Linked DNA regions of Homo sapiens: regions 2 and 3 are each linked to region 1. The links are contacts of gene promoters, found by promoter capture Hi-C in blood cells and fetal thymus (Javierre and others, 2016). All regions are on one chromosome and are shown on one strand. Each heading gives the region's core, a stretch centred on a gene start or on the middle of the fragment in contact. The rest is flanking DNA. Distances are from core to core; before and after follow the strand shown.

Evidence for each region. Contacts are between HindIII fragments. The CHiCAGO score rates a contact against its expected background, and 5 or more counts as called.
Region 2: a contact is called between a fragment that was not itself captured here and the fragment with the promoter of GRIK4 in region 1, in 6 of 17 cell types (megakaryocytes, endothelial precursors, M2 macrophages and 3 more). The highest score is 10.9, in megakaryocytes.
Region 3: a contact is called between a fragment that was not itself captured here and the fragment with the promoter of GRIK4 in region 1, in 1 of 17 cell types (endothelial precursors). The highest score is 6.0, in endothelial precursors.

Annotation. Positions count from the first base shown.
Region 1 is chr11:120,510,102-120,513,247 of GRCh38, reverse strand. It overlaps GRIK4 (glutamate ionotropic receptor kainate type subunit 4), which reads right to left and starts at 1,500. Exons shown (of 21, transcript NM_014619.5): 1 at 1,361-1,500. RefSeq lists silencers at 1,430-1,629, 1,810-1,889. The HindIII fragment of the contact is 5,980 bases long and covers 1-3,146 here.
Region 2 is chr11:120,932,577-120,935,722 of GRCh38, reverse strand. All of the region lies in intron 13 of GRIK4 (glutamate ionotropic receptor kainate type subunit 4), which reads right to left. Among named protein-coding and RNA genes, the nearest start is that of TBCEL, 90 kb to the left of the region's middle. RefSeq lists an enhancer at 1,309-1,603. The HindIII fragment of the contact is 3,000 bases long and covers 34-3,033 here.
Region 3 is chr11:120,902,471-120,905,616 of GRCh38, reverse strand. It overlaps GRIK4 (glutamate ionotropic receptor kainate type subunit 4), which reads right to left. Exons shown (of 21, transcript NM_014619.5): 13 at 124-327. Among named protein-coding and RNA genes, the nearest start is that of TBCEL, 120 kb to the left of the region's middle. The HindIII fragment of the contact is 4,939 bases long and covers 1-3,146 here.

The sequences.
Region 1 (3,146 bases), core at 251-2,750:
TGAAAGTGAAGGTAGTTCTTTGTTCCTGGCAGGGCTCAGTCCTCCTGACCAGCCCTCAGACCTCTTGGCCTGGTCTTGACAGCTGCCCACTGCCTGGCAAAAGGGCCCAGCTGTGCTCAGAGCTCCCCTCCTCTTCCCAGACAACCCAGACCCTTGGGAGACATGCCCAGGAGAGCCACTGGAGGGAGGCAGGGAGGTGGCACCGCGTGGCATCACCAGACAACAGCACCAAGAGGAAGATGGCAGCATCAAGTACAGATGCCAAGAGCCACGCAGCCCAAGGTCCAGCCCGGGAGTGGCTCGGCCCGCATTGCCCCACCACTGCCAGGCAGACGGGCCAGAGGCGCCCGGGGCCCAGCCCCCTCGGCCGCCTCCTCCACCACCCCAAGGCCCTCAGCCAACTCTCCCCAGGCTCCAACTCCTCCCCTCACTTTGCTCAGCTCAAGGGAGCCAGGGAAAGAGACACAGGTGCTCTCAGTGCCTTGAACCCCCTGTCCCAGCTGTCGCCTGCACGCCCTCCACCCCAGCCAGGTCGGAGCGCACAGCTCTGCCAGTCCTCACTGAAGAGAATCTAAATCAGCTCCCCTCCCCCTCCGCCCCAGCCCCCTCCCCCATCACGCGCCCATTGCAGGTCTCTAGAGTTTCTCCCTCACTTCCCACTCGGATGAACTAGGGTGGGATGGGTGGGAGCCCCATTCTCCCCGGGAAAGAGGATCATTTCTGATAGGACGCTGGTTCCCCCAAGCAAGGCGGTGTGCAGGGTGGGGGGGTGTGGTGGTGGCCCGAGTCCAGTGCAGGGGCAGGGGGCAGTCGAGGCAGATGGCAGTGAGGAAAGGGGGAGGGGGCTTGGTGGGATGCCAGGCTGAGCCGGGATGGGGGGCTGCAGCCGGGGAACAGAGGCGCTGGGAGAAGCGGAGGGTGACGAGGTGTAGGGGAGACGCGCCAGGCTGGGAAGGGGCTGTCATCCCTGCAGGGGACAGAGGCAGGGCTGGGAGTTGCACGGGGAGGGGGAGGACCAGAGCGGGAGGACCGCGAGCCCGGGGAAGGGATGCGGAGGGAGGGAGACGGACCGGGGTGAAGACTGGAGGAACTACGGGAGCAGAGCGGTGGGGGGTTCGGCGGCGAATCTGGAGACGCAGGGACCGAAGTGCCAGGGACCGGGCTGGCGGGAGGCGGGAGCGGGGAGGAGGGCGCGGGGGCGGGGGCCGGGGCAGGGGTGCGGGGCCGCGGCCCCCGAGGGCAGGAGCGGCGGAGACGTCAGAAGTCGGGGTGCGGGAAGGGCCAGCGCGGAGGGGACTCGGGGGCGCGGGGGCAGCGCAGGGAGCGGGCCGGGGGCGCCGCGGGGGGCCGCTGCCCTTACCTGGTCGGCTCCGCACTCCGGGGGCTGAGCCGGGGGCCGGGCGCTGCCGGGCCGGCCGCGGGGCTGCTGTTGGCCGTTTTTCCTCTTCCGCAGCAGCCGTGGCGGCTCCAGCCCGATCCGCCCGCAGCTGAAGGCAGTCTGTGTCCGGCTGCGAGCGAGCCCGGCGCGGGGAGCGCGGGAGGAGCGCAGCGAGGCGCGGGGCGCCGCCCGGCGGGCAGCTGGGGAACTGCTGCGGCCCCGCGCACGGCCGGCCGGGGGGGCGCCCCTTCGGGGCCGGGCCGGAGCCCCGCGGGCAGCTGCACGCGCCCCCCAGCGCCCCTCGGAGCGTCGCCCGGGAGCCCAGGCGCGGGGGCGGCGGGGGCGGCGGGAACGGCGGGGGCTGCTGCGGGCAGGGCGGGCGCGGGTCCGCGCGGCCGGGGGCAAACTTGCGGCTGCCCGGGGGCCCGGGGCCGAGCGAGAGGCGCCCGGCTGGGGAGCGGCGCCCGGCAGAGGCTAGGGGCGCGCGGCCAAGCGGGCTCTGCGAGGTACGGACCTCAGGTGGGGAACCCGGCGCAGCCCGCACACTCCACCGCCCTGCGCAAAGGGGCAGCCCGCCCCGGCCCCGAGGAGTTATTAGCCCGGCGGCTTCAGCGAGCAAGGGGCGCCCCCTGGTGGCATTCGGGAAACAGCGCGGGGGACGAGCGTGCCCCGTTAGAAGAGACTGCGGCCTCAGTGGTGCGGAAGATGGAGAGGTGGAGGTTTCATGGGACGAGACAAGAGCACCTTGTTCAGGAGACTGAAGAGCAACAGCTTGCATGGAGTCATTCCAGAGCACTGTTGTATACATACCAACATCTTGGGAGGATCTCATGTTACGCATGAAGATCCTGAGGCTAGGAGAGGTGAAGGGACCAGGCCAAGAACACACGGGGAGCAAGTGGCAGGACCCAGGAGGCAACCCCGCTTTCTGACGCGCGGTTCATTTCAGTACACCGTGTGGTTCATCCTAATACAACAGAGTTGCCCTTAGGAGGAGGCTGGGTGAAGAGGGAGTCCTGGGGGAATAGGAGGGAGGGCAAGGGACACGTGACCCCCTCAAACCTATTAGCTCCCTCTTATCCAACCCGCAGAGTCTCTGTCTTGGGCAGACCACCAAACTGATCACACCGGCCCTCTCACCTTCAATGGCCTGTATCCCCACACCCAACCACCAGCACTCCCACAATCTCATTAAGCTCTCTGTGAAGGGTTTGTTCACAGACGTCCTTGGTCAGGTCTCACGCATGAGGCATACTATCGGGACTATAGACTGTTCTGGACGTTGCATTCCCCGGGGAGGGCTGGCTGGCTAGCCTGGGCGCGTACTGGGCCTCCTGCTTCAGGAGTCGTGCCTATCCCTCCCCCAGCTCCACACACTGGCTGGATGAATGCCATATGCGAACAGGGCTCCATTCCTCCAGCCAGACATTATTTAGCACCTACTGTTTGCCAAGACTATACCGCTTACACAAGTGTGATTCCCAATAATCAACTTTGCAAGGTAGGTGTTGAGGTGACACTAGTCCCATTTTACAGAGGATGTTAAACCTGTTAAGGTTTAAGAGCACCTGTAAGCCAGTGACACAAAACTAATTTCTAATTCCAACTCTATTCCCCCACTCTGGAACCCCCTCTCTTGTGCAAAATGGACGGAACAGCAGCATAAGCCTAGCAGAAAGTGTACGGGGCTGGGAGGAGGGAGAGGCATCCCTGTGATCCCAGCAAGCGATTTCACTTCCCTGGACTTCAGTTCCCATAACTCTAAAAG
Region 2 (3,146 bases), core at 284-2,783, 420 kb before region 1:
GCTTATTCATCTTTAGTTGACTCCGATGAAGCTTACACATGATAACTGTCGTTCCGTTAACTGAGTACCACTCTGTAATTGCAACAACAAAAAGGTTGCAGCTGTTTGGTTGACATTCTGAGTGCTTCAAAGTAAATACAATATTTACTTATTTAGTATTTTTATTTTTTTGAGACAGAGTCTTGCTCTGTCTTGCCCAGGCTGCAATGCAGTGGTGCGATCTTGGCTCACTGCAACCTCCACCTCCCACATTCGAGTGATTCTCCTGTCTCAGCCTCCCAAGTAGCTGGGAATACAGGTGTGCACCACCACACCCGGCTAATTTTGTATTTTTAGTAGAGACGGGGTTTCACCATGTTGGCCAGGCTGGTCTCGAACTCCTGACCTCAGGTGATCCACCTGCCTTGGCCTCCCAAAGTTTTAACATTTTAAACCAAAAAGCAGCCCTGACTCTTGTCACTTGTGGGCCACAACCTCATCACGACCTTAGGCAAATTATTCCACCGTCTGGAATAGTGTCCTCAACTGTAAAATGAAAGGGTTCAAGCAGAGGCTCTCTAAGCTCCTTTCCAGCTGTCAAATCCCCTGCTTTAATGTGCCTGACTAGAAGAGACAGCGCTTACATGAGTGGTCCCCACTTTGCTTAAGTGGATGATGGCGGTCAGCAGTATTGAACGCTCTGAGGAGGAAACTGATGACCAGACTCGTCAGTGAAGAGCAGCAGCTAGCAGGGACATTTGATTTTAGGGAAAGAAATTCAGGAAGGGGCCATCTGGGGAAGGCAGGTCTAAAATCGTAACCCAGGGGGGATGGAAAACCAGAAAAAGCTGGGACCATTAGAGCCACAGGGTAGGTCTCCGGAGAAAGAAAAGGACAGGTGAAGGGAAGCAGAGAGTGCTCCACGCATCCCATGTGCCCGGCTGTGGCATGGGGCGGATGTGCGCCCCCACAGGGGTATATAAATACATTCCCTCCGAGAGAAAGACCTCTCTCCTCTCCCTATTTTTGACTGAAAGTGTTCTTTGAAGAGCTTTGTGTTCTGCCTCTGAGAGATCCCCTCTTTTATCTCCTGGATGTTTGTAGAGTTTACAAGGGGAGGGCAGGCGGGAGCCAGCCTGGAGGTGACTTCCAAAACATACTCTCTTTGGCCTCCTGGAGATTAATAGGGGCCGTGCAGCTGCCACCATTTCTGTCAAAGCCTGAAGGCTTGGCGTGGCCACTGCTCTTCTCCTGGGACATGAGCCTGGCTGGGAGGAAGATGAGCCTTCACAATAAGGCTGTGGTCTGCGTCTGCCTGGGCCCCCTGCTCCCACTCCGGGCTTCCTGAGAATGGCATGAGGAGTGGTCTAACGGCAATACCAGATCTGGGAGCATCCGAAGACAGCAAAGCCTTCTCATCTCCCTCCCTTCTTTTTCAGACAGCTGCTGCCCCCTTTCGGGCAAAATTCCCTCCCTCCCACTCAGCAGTGCCCTAGCACCATGACGCTGACCTTTTTTTTTTTTTTTTTTTTTTTTTTTGAGACGGAGTCTCGCTCTGTCACCCAGCCTGGAGTGCAGTGGCGTGATCTCGGCTCACTGCAACCTCCGCCTCCCGGGTTCACGCCATTCTCCTGCCTCAGCCTCCTGAGTAGCTGGGACTACAGGCGCCCGCCACCATGCCCGACTAATTTTTTTATATTTTTAGTAGAGATGGGGTTTCACTGTGTTAGCCAGGATGGTCTCGATCTCCTGACCTCGTGATCCACCCGCCTTGGCCTCCCAAAGTGCTGGGATTACAGGTGTGAGCCACCGCGCCTGGCTATGACCTCTTGCAGCCTCAGGCCTGCCTCCTCCACCTGGCCTGGCTGCCCTCCCTTACATACAGCCATGCTAATGGGAGGATGGGACGGGTCAGGAGAACTGCCAGTGCCTCTGCTCCTTGCCGTCCAAATGGCCATGTGCAATTTACTTCCCTTCTCTGGGACTCATTTTTCTCCACTGTAAAATGGGGCAATACCAGCCTATCAATATTATGTGAGAGTCAAAAGAGATGATGGTTGTAGAAGAGCCTTATAAATCATAACACTGTAGAGCGCTGCCATATCAATAAGGGGCTATTAAGGCAGTAGAGGGGGTAACTGAACTTAGTTTTCAGTGTGGCTTAGAACTACCTGGACTCGCACTCACTTACCTGTTGTATGACCTTGGACAAGTCATTTATTCAACTTTTTCTAAGCCTCAGTTTGCTTATCTGTAACGCGGGTATAATAAGAGTACCTAGCTCCTACAATTGTTGAGAAGATGAATGAGGCCATGTCTGTAAATGCTGAGCATGGGGCCTGGTTTGAAGTAAGTAGCCAGTAAGTCTTTGCTGTTGGGATGACAATGATGCTGCTGCTGAACTTGACAATGAGGATCATCTTAGCAAGGGCTTATGGAGACCTTATGATGAGTTGTGGGCATGTTTGGAGGCAGGCAGACCTGTTCTGTGTATGTGCAGCCCTAACTGGTCACCGCGTCCCCCACTCTGGCCCCTGCGGCCTTTCCCGGGTGACCTGGAGCACATGCACAGCTGTGTTGACACAATGTGCTTCTCTGGTGTGACCGTCTGTCTATGTGGACCTATGTGGGGTCCAGGCCTCCCAGACCTCATGCTGTCCAGTCCTTTGGAAAACTCTGGGAAAAATCCAGTACCTAGCTTGGAAAGCCAGTCATTCTCCCCAGTCCCTTCCTCCAAACATGATTCTCCTTTGGGGAGAATGAATTAAATGGCCTCTCCAGCTCCCTCTGAATCCTCTTTCAGATCCTCTCTTCTATCTCTGATCAGCTTCCAGATCTTTCTTCTCTGACCTTTTTACAGTACACCTCCTCACCCCAGCTTTCTGCCCTTGAGGAGGCCAGCTGCCCCTGCCCCCTCTACATGCCAGCAGCTTTCTACAACTTTACAAGTCAGGCTTCACATCTCCTGTTTCACCTGCTGCTGGGGCTGCAGAGTGCCTCCCATTCTTCAATGTCATTTAACTCTGTAATTGTGTTACTTAACTCCGGAAAGCTTTGGGAGGCTACAGTTGGGATGAGAAAACGCTACCCAGAATAAGCACTCCTGGAAACCTTCATTCCAAGGTAATTGTCTCTGGAGATCCCCTGTATATTGAAAAGGCTTATGG
Region 3 (3,146 bases), core at 345-2,844, 390 kb before region 1:
AATGACAAATGCATGAATGATTGACTGAACAAATGGAGGGTTCATGAGCGTGCAGCACAACCTCATGCTCTTCCAATCCCTCCCAGCCCACCCTCAGGCCCAGATCACTTGTCCTCTCCTTACCCTAGCGATCAGCTCCCCGACCATTCCCGTCCAGGTGCCGTTGGCCTCGGGAACGCCGTACACGCCATCCCCAACCAGGCGGATCTTGTAGTTGAATCGGAGGATCTCTGCCAGCTCCTTGAGCATGTCCACACAGAAGCCCTCGTAGCGGTCATTGCCTTCCATCTCCTGGTGGTTCCCCTTCAGCATTAAATATGGGTTCTCCTGCAGCAAAACTGGGCAGCTGTCATTCTCATCTTAGCCCTGGTGTCTCACCCGCGTGTGATGGGGAGGGCCAGGGGCACAGAGGGTCGGGGAGGACATGGGGCAGAAGGAGGAAACTGACGTGGGTAATGGGCTACTTTGGGGTGATGACCAGCTCCTCTCCCTGATGTGCTCCTTAAAGCTGTCCTTCAAGGTGCTTCTGTTGTCAGGAACACACAGTGGTTCCCACTGCATGGAGGGTCAGGCTCAAGCTGCTTCAACTTGTTTAAGGTCATCATCTGACCCCACTATCTATCTCTCTCTTTTTTTTCTACCCCTGCTTTATTCCAGGCAGACCAATGGCTGGGCATTATCAGAGATATAAGGATGTCTGCAATAAGCAGGCTAGGTAAGAACAGGTACATGTGCAACTGCAGTCCAAGGAGGGCATTGGGAAGAGGGCAGGTCTCTCCAGTGAGATGTCCAGAGAAGGCTCCAAGCTGAAGGTGGGATCCAAGCTGGGCTCTGGAGGAGGCAGAACACTGAGAGATGGAAGGGCTGTGAATGAAAGGCATGGGCCAGGGGAAGGCACAATCAAGGGCATGATCCTGAGTGGCTGCTCAGTGGACGATGGACCTTCCAGGGTAGCCGGAGCACAGGTTGTGAGCAGGGGCGAGATGGGAGGAGAAATGTAGATGGATGGGACTCAGATGCCAGGAAGTGGTGGCTGCACATTACACAAGGTATAGGGGGGAAGCATCAAGCGTTTTAAAGACGCAAGGCTGCGAGTAAGGAATACTAAGTAGTAGGAGAGGAAGCATCCAGGGGTGAGGACAGACCCTCTCCTGAGATGAGACCCTGAATCCTGGGCTGCAGGTTGGATTGGAGAAAGCCAGAAGGATGTAAGAGGCACAGAAAGGAACAGGTCTGATAACTGGTTGGTTGGGTGTGGGTCCTCAGAGCCTTGGAGCCCGGTGGATGACTAACAGAGGGTGGTGTCATGATGGGCTCGAATGCCTGGAGGGGAGGAGGATTTGGAACAGGTTGAATCTGAGGTGCTGGCAGGCTACGCAGGCAGAAGTGACCCACTGGGTGTTTAAAATGTGGAGCAAGGGTAAGACAGGGGCCAGAGATTGCACATGTACAGAGATCAAGGCTGAAGCTGGGGAATATGTGAGACCGTCAAGGGGAAGAGTTGAGAAAGGGCAGAAGAGGAAGAAGAAGAGGCCCTGGGGAGAACCTGGTCTTAGAGAGTGGGGAAATGAAGGGCAATCACAGAAGACAACACAGAAGCAGCCAGGAAGGCTGAAAATCAGGGGAACATGATCTTAGCGTCAAGGAGGAGGAAATTGGAAGATAGAGGATGTAGCCACTCCCACCATTCTCACAGACCTAGCAGGGCTGGGAACCAGCGTGTTGATCATGTGTCACTGCCGACCTTTTGAAGGCAGGCGTGGTGGGGGCAGCAGGACTCCGTAGGATGAGGACTGAGCGAGTGCCACAGGAGTGAGGGCTGTTCAGCATTTTGACAGGTTAGGAGCTAAGGGAGGCAAGGCGGCAGGCACAGAGAGGGCAGATCGCCTCTCCTCCAAGCTCCTTCCCCACCGCAAACAGCAGGGCTGGGGGTCCCAGGGGCCCACCCAATTCTGTGATTCTGTGACTCCCTACGTTGGAGGGCAGCTTGAAGGGCAGCAGGGTGTAGGAAAGGTGAAGGCGATGGTGTTTTAGGATGGGACAGTCCAGGGTGTATTTACAGGCAGGAAGGGAAAATCCCTGGAAAAGGGGAGAAAAGAGGAGGAAAGAACCATGCTAGCTGGTGGAGCAAGGGCCCAGGAAGTGCAGGGTGGAGGCAGGGTGGGGCGGGGTGAGGTTGAGGCCTGAGCCTGGAGGTGAGGTAGAGGGTATGGGTGGGTTCACAGAGAGAAGGGAGCTCGTGCTGGCCCCAGAGTTGTGCTGAAAGTGGGGCAGATAGGCTTGAGTCTTGGTGTGTGGGAAGATTTTCAGCAGAGCCGCTCAGGGGATGCGACAGGGACAGAGGAGAGCTGGGCTCAGGGATTACCAAGGCCCGGCTGCAGAGGGGAGGCTGGATGCAGACAGGCAGCTGGGAGCAGGGGTGGCAGGGACAATCGGGCTTGGGTACAGGTGTGCATGGAGAAACCTGCACATCACGATTCTAGGAGCCCAGAGAGGAAAGCACTGAAATCCTGATGGGCTGAGCTCGTTCTGAGAAGGACTTCTAGGCTGGGGAAGATGGAGGGCCAGACAGACACAAGGTCATGGAGGGACTGTGAGGGAGAGCAGGATGTGGGCGTGATGAAGTGGGCAGCCAGAAGGCAAAGGTCATGTGTCAGGGAGCGGGAGCTCTGAGTGGAAGGTGACGTGATTCTGATTCTGGATGAGTCCACTGTCACGTCAATGAGATAGGAACGGTCAGCCTGCCTTCCACACACGCCGTCCTCAGCACAAGGGCTTCTCCCTGCACAAACTCTCCACACACTCCCCCATCTTCCACCTCACCTAGTCATCTTTGTCCGCAGAGTCACACTGCCTCCTTCTGTGCCAACCCATGTCTCAGAACTCCCCTGCTCTCATGCCAGGGCCCACACAATCACCCTCCAATGTTTTCCGATTTGCGCCTGCTCTAGGTAGAATGGGAGTGGGTCCTGGGACAGACTCGTCACCTGCTTGGTTCCCCTACCTGGCTCAGCATTAAGCACTTGCCGATCATGTGAGTAAGAAGCAAACAAATGGCTTCCTGGACAGGGCATGGCTGGGGGTTTCCATCTCAGGACTGGTAATGTCCCATTGTATCTTTGATTGTCCCAAGGGGTGTCACAAAT